2 separate regions of the Homo sapiens genome follow, and region 1 is linked to region 2. Evidence: promoter capture Hi-C in 16 types of primary human blood cells and fetal thymus (Javierre and others, 2016). All regions are on one chromosome and are shown on one strand. The core of a region is centred on a gene start or on the middle of the fragment in contact, and the rest is flanking DNA. Distances in the headings are between cores, read along the strand shown. Region 1 overlaps RNF115 (ring finger protein 115). Region 2 holds the start of HJV (hemojuvelin BMP co-receptor).

Evidence for each region. Contacts are between HindIII fragments. The CHiCAGO score rates a contact against its expected background, and 5 or more counts as called.
Region 1: a contact is called between a fragment that was not itself captured here and the fragment with the promoter of HJV in region 2, in 1 of 17 cell types (activated CD4 T cells). The highest score is 5.2, in activated CD4 T cells.

What each region holds. Positions count from the first base shown.
Region 1 is chr1:145,809,654-145,812,353 of GRCh38, reverse strand. The region is part of intron 1 of RNF115 (ring finger protein 115); the gene reads left to right. Among named protein-coding and RNA genes, the nearest start is that of RNF115, 13 kb to the left of the region's middle. The HindIII fragment of the contact is 4,239 bases long and covers 1-2,700 here.
Region 2 is chr1:146,020,320-146,023,019 of GRCh38, reverse strand. It overlaps HJV (hemojuvelin BMP co-receptor), which reads left to right and starts at 1,285. Exons shown (of 4, transcript NM_213653.4): 1 at 1,285-1,433; 2 at 2,700. The HindIII fragment of the contact is 1,771 bases long and covers 1-1,466 here.

The DNA.
Region 1 (2,700 bases), core at 59-2,558, 210 kb after region 2:
TTGAAAATCTGTTAAGACAGATTAATCTCTCTCCTTGATAATTTGAACAAGTGTCACAGGAAACTTCTTAGTAGACAAGGTAATGTTTACCTCCTTGCCACTCACTTTGATGTTGTACAGATTTGAATAGACTTTTAACCCATAGTACCATCTTCCAGAAGTTTCATTTTGCTTACCTTTCACCATGCTTAGAATTTACATTCTCAAAAGAAAAAACAATTATAGTTACATGCTCTTTCTTACCTTTTGCTGGATTAACTGAGACCTGCAGGTATCCTACAGTGATGCTGATCTTCTAGCCCGTTAATTCTCAGACCTCTCAGATTCAGTGCCCTCTTCTTATAAGTATTTTGAAATACTCTCTTTAGTGAAATGAAATCCACAGGTAATACAGCTTTTCTACATATATGTGTGTGTGTGTATATATATATATATATATATATATTTTTTTTTTTTTTTTTTTTTTTTTTGTGAGACAGAATCTCTGTCAACCAGGCTGCAGTGCAGTGGCGTGATCTTGGCTCACTGTATCCTCTGCCTCCTGGGTGCTTCAAGCGATGCTCGTGCCTCAGCCTTCCAAGTAGCTGAGATTACAAGCGTGCATCACCACACCTGGCTAATTTTTTTGTATTATTATTTATTCTTTGTAGAGACAGGGTTTCACCATGTTGGCCAGGCTGGTCTCGAACTCCTGGCCTCAAGTGCGCCCACCTCGGCCTCCCAAAGTGCTGGGGTTATAGGCGTGAGCCACCACACCCGGCCCTACATATATAATTAAAAAAATTATCTTGCAGTAAGATAAAGGATAAATAGAAAATATTTCTGACAGATTAGCTTGACATGACAGCTACCTGAGTAGACTGCTATAAGGGTATTTGCAACTTAAATACCAGGAGAAGCAAACCAGTACAGTGAACAATTCTTTGCAAATGTACAAATAAAACTCAAGTACAACTTCTTTCTTCTTCTTCTTTTTTCTTTTTTTTTTTTTTTTTTTTGGTAGTGATGGGGTCTCACTTAGTTGCCCAGGCTGGTTTTGAGTTAGGCTCAAGCTGTCCTCCTCCTTGGCCTCCCAAAGTGCTGAGATTACAAACGTGAGCCACTGCATCTGCCCCAAAGTACAGTTTTCTCTTACTTTATTCAGCAGTTGCTTTTCTGGACATTTAGTGCATATTAAAATTATGGACTGGGCACGGTGGCTTACGCCTGTAATCCCAGCACTTTGGGATACCAAGGCGGTTGGATCACTTGAGCCCAGGAGTTGGAGACCAGCCTGGGCAACATGGTAAAACCCTGTCTCTACAAAAAATTTTTTTAAAAATTAGCCGGGCTTGGTGGCACGTGCCTGAAGTCCCAGCTACCTGGGAGGCTGAGGTGGGAGGATTACCTGAGCCCAAGAGGTCAAGGCTGTAGTGAACCGTGATCACACCGCTGCACTCCAGCCTGGGTGACAGAGTGAGACCCTGTCTCAAAAAAAAAATAAATAAATAAATAAAATTATGCAGAAGGACTTGGTGCTTATACGTAGAATGTAATTAGGTTCTAGGCTTTGGTAATTATACAGATTTTAAAAATCCAGTTAACTATTCATAAGGAAGTTTGAGAATAAAGACATTTTTTCTTTGTGCTGGACTTGCCTATGCTTTCCTGGCCTCTGCCAATTGAATGTCAGTAACACTTTTTTTTTTTTCTGCAACTTTTATTTTAAGTCCCGGGGCACATGTGCAGGATGTGCAGGTTTTGTTATGTAGGCAAACCTGTGCCATGGTGGTTGGCTGCACAGATCAACTCATCACGTAGCTATTAAGCCCAGCATCCATTAGATATTCTTCCTGAGGCTCCCTCAACAGGCCCCAGTGTGTGTTGTTCCCCACCATGTGTCCTCCTCATTTAGCCCCTACTTACAAATGAGAACGTGTGATGTGTGGTTTTCTGTTCCTATGTTAGTTTGCTGAGGATAACGGCTTCCAGCTCCATCCACATCCCTGCAAAGTAATCACTCGTCCTTTTTATGGCTGAATGGTATTCCATGGTGTATATGTACCACATTTTCTTTATCTAGTCTCTCACTGATGGGCATTTGGGTTTATTCCATGTCTTTGCTATTGTGAATAGTGAGAAGCACTTCTTAACTGCTGTGACAACCAAAGCACTTCCATAGATGTCCCAACTATCCCCTAGATGATTGTGTTGTCCTCATTAAGAATGACCTCTAGTCATACAGGAAAACATTTTTCTGTTTTATCATTCACTCTTCTTTTTTTTTTCTTGCTTATTATTCACTACTTTAGCACAGCCTTTTAGTCTAAAAGACAAAGATTTACTTGGCCTTTAGACAATTCCTATATGTCTTTAAATTTCTTATTTCCTCACCACTCTTATTATTGATGTTTTCTTTTCCATAAGTGTTAGGACAGTGCCTTGGTACATAGTAGATACTCAATTAGTATTTGTTGAATGAAGGAAACTTAACTGTAGGCTTTTTCTTCTTGCCACTTTCTGCTTTTTGTACCTGTTGAAAATGATGGAGGTACCAGTGTTCATAAAAACCTTGAAAACAGGCTGGGTGCAGTGGCTCATGCCTGTAATCCCAGCACTTTGGGAGGCCGAGGCAGGCAGATCACTCGAGGTCAGGAGTTCAAGACCAACCTGATCAACATGGTGAAACCCCGTCTGTACTAAAAATACAAAATTAGCCAG
Region 2 (2,700 bases), core at 36-2,535:
ACTTGGCAAGTACTAAAAGATGATGATCTCAGATATACCTATGGCTGCAAAAACATGACATGGCTAAATCCCTTGGTTGCAGTATCTCTTTTCTTTTTTAAGGGGGGTGGGGGGGCGGGTCTCACTGTTGCCCAGGCTGGAGTGCAATGGCGTTATCATAGCTCACTGCAGCCTCAAACTCCTGCGCTCAAGTGACCCTCCTGCCTCAGCTCCCAAAGTGCTGAGATTTTGCAATATTTATGGTCACAAGATTATGTTATTCCATAAAAGTATCTTTCTGAGGCTAGGCATGTTGGTTCACACTTGTAATCCCAGCACTCTGAGAGGCTGAGATGGAAGGATTCATTGAGGCAAGGAGTTCAAGACCAGCCTGGTCAACATAGTGAGACCTCATCTCGGAAGGAAGGAAGGAAGGAGGGAGGGAGGGAGGGAGGGAGTGAAGGAAGGAAGGAAGGAAGGAAGGAAGGAAGGAAGGAAGGAAGGAAAAGTATATTTTTGAATCTTTTTCTATTTCTCCAACTCTTTCTTTAGAAGAATTCTATTTCCATTCTTTCTTCACCTCTTTGCCTTTGTTAGCCTTCTCTCCAAGCAAATCGGGAGCCTTTATTTTTTGTGTATTCATGAGGGAGAGGAAGATGAATTGCTGTACAAACTAAAGTAATGAAAATGGAGTAGGTAGGAGGATAGACAGCTGCAAGGATCTGAGCTGGATAGACTGAACAAACCCTCATCCTAAGCAACTCACAGCTCAGATTTCTTCTCTGGACAGCTGGCTTTTTTCGTCCTTCTGAAATACTCTGCAAAGATAGGAGAGGGGCTATGAACTACCTCTGCTATGGATCTTATTCAAAGTCAGCTACCTCCTAGATACTATCTGTAGAACCTAAATGTAATATTCAGCATAGCAGGGATGAACATGGTAAATGAAAGGTATCCAATTGCCCACTGTAATTTTTAAAGGCCAGGAGCTCAACATTATTGAAAATGCTGGAGGGCTGCCTGGAGTAGGCAGTGACCACAGAGTCACACAAGCTGGAATTGGATATCCAACTTGTCTGTCATATTTCTCTCCTCCCTCCCTGACTTGGCACTCAATACTCCATATTCTTTCTAATCCTCTAACCCTCCCCACTCCCCCAACTCCCACACCCTACCCCCACCAACGTTCCTGGAATTTTGGACTTAGCTATTTTTAAAACCGTCAACTCAGTAGCCACCTCCCTCCCTGCTCAGCTGTCCAGTACTCTGGCCAGCCATATACTCCCCCTTCCCCCCATACCAAACCTTCTCTGGTTCCCTGACCTCAGTGAGACAGCAGCCGGCCTGGGGACCTGGGGGAGACACGGAGGACCCCCTGGCTGGAGCTGACCCACAGAGTAGGGAATCATGGCTGGAGAATTGGATAGCAGAGTAATGTTTGACCTCTGGAAACAGTAAGTCAAAATGAAATTGCAATTCCTTTAATAAGCTTTTATATTGAAGTTAGACTTTTATAAAATTACAAACACCTACTTGGATGTCTCTCGTCCAAATGCTGGGATCTCTCCCTACCAAGGTGCCCCAATCTCCATTTCTCTTTCTGTCTTATTTCTTTCTGGCCTCTGGCCTCTAGCTTTTTGAAGTTTAATTCTCTGTCTCTCCTCTGGCAGTCTTAGCCCTCTCTTTACCTTATTACCTCAAGACTCCTGATGAAGTTTTAGAAGGAGTTCCCTACGTCCTCTATTCTGTAGTTTTCTTACCAAGGCCAAATATGACCTCAGATGATGAGTCACTGATACCCTTCTATCCTGCCCCCACTTAGCAATGCCCTTCACATTGAGATTCCAAGCATGGGGGCTGCTCCCTGTAAATGATTTCTCCCCACAACTCTAGTCCCTCCATTCTATTCTCCCTCTTGCAGGACTCTTCCCCCAATCATATCCTTACCCATAAGATAGGGGAGTTAGGCAGGAGGGATTTAGCCCCTCTCCAACTCCTGTCATCATAAAAGACTGAGAACTTCAGAATTTGAAAAGAAGAGATTAATGGAAGGAGTGATATTTGGGAAAATACAAGAACTGTTGACTTAGAAAAAACAAATATTGATTTGCATGTTTGGTTTGCATCCCATTATTCCATGAGAGAGGGAGATTAAAATTGCAGCTCTCTAGAGCTGATGAAAAGAGATTGGTTTCCTTTTCATTTGAATACTGATATTCTAGACGGGATGGGTATGCCACCCTTAATCCTTCTTGTGTTCTGACACAAAGGAGGAAAAGAAATGTATGACTCCTAGAGGGCATCTCCTCCTAATGGAGAGGGACAAATAAGAAGTATGTTTCTGAAATATTTTCAGGTCCTAATTTTACTAGGGTACCCACTAGGATTACTGGTATCTGATCTAGCCCCATGATTCCTCCATCTTTGACATACCTGCTGTTTGGTAGCTCAGAATGGAGCAATACAGTGGACTCTGCCCCCTTGAGTTCACTCAACCTTCCCTCCACCCCCACCTAGGGGTATTGCACAAGGGCCCTAAAAGTGGCCACAGGAACAGGGCAAAGAGGCTTAACTGCCACACTTATAGTTTGAGGAACTCCAATCTCCCCAAATTCCAGTCTGTTCATCCTTTTCTTGATCTCCCCAGATTCACTCCACATTATCCTTACCAATCTTCAATTCTTCTCTCTCTCCATGTCCAGCCAAATTTCTTTTTTCAGT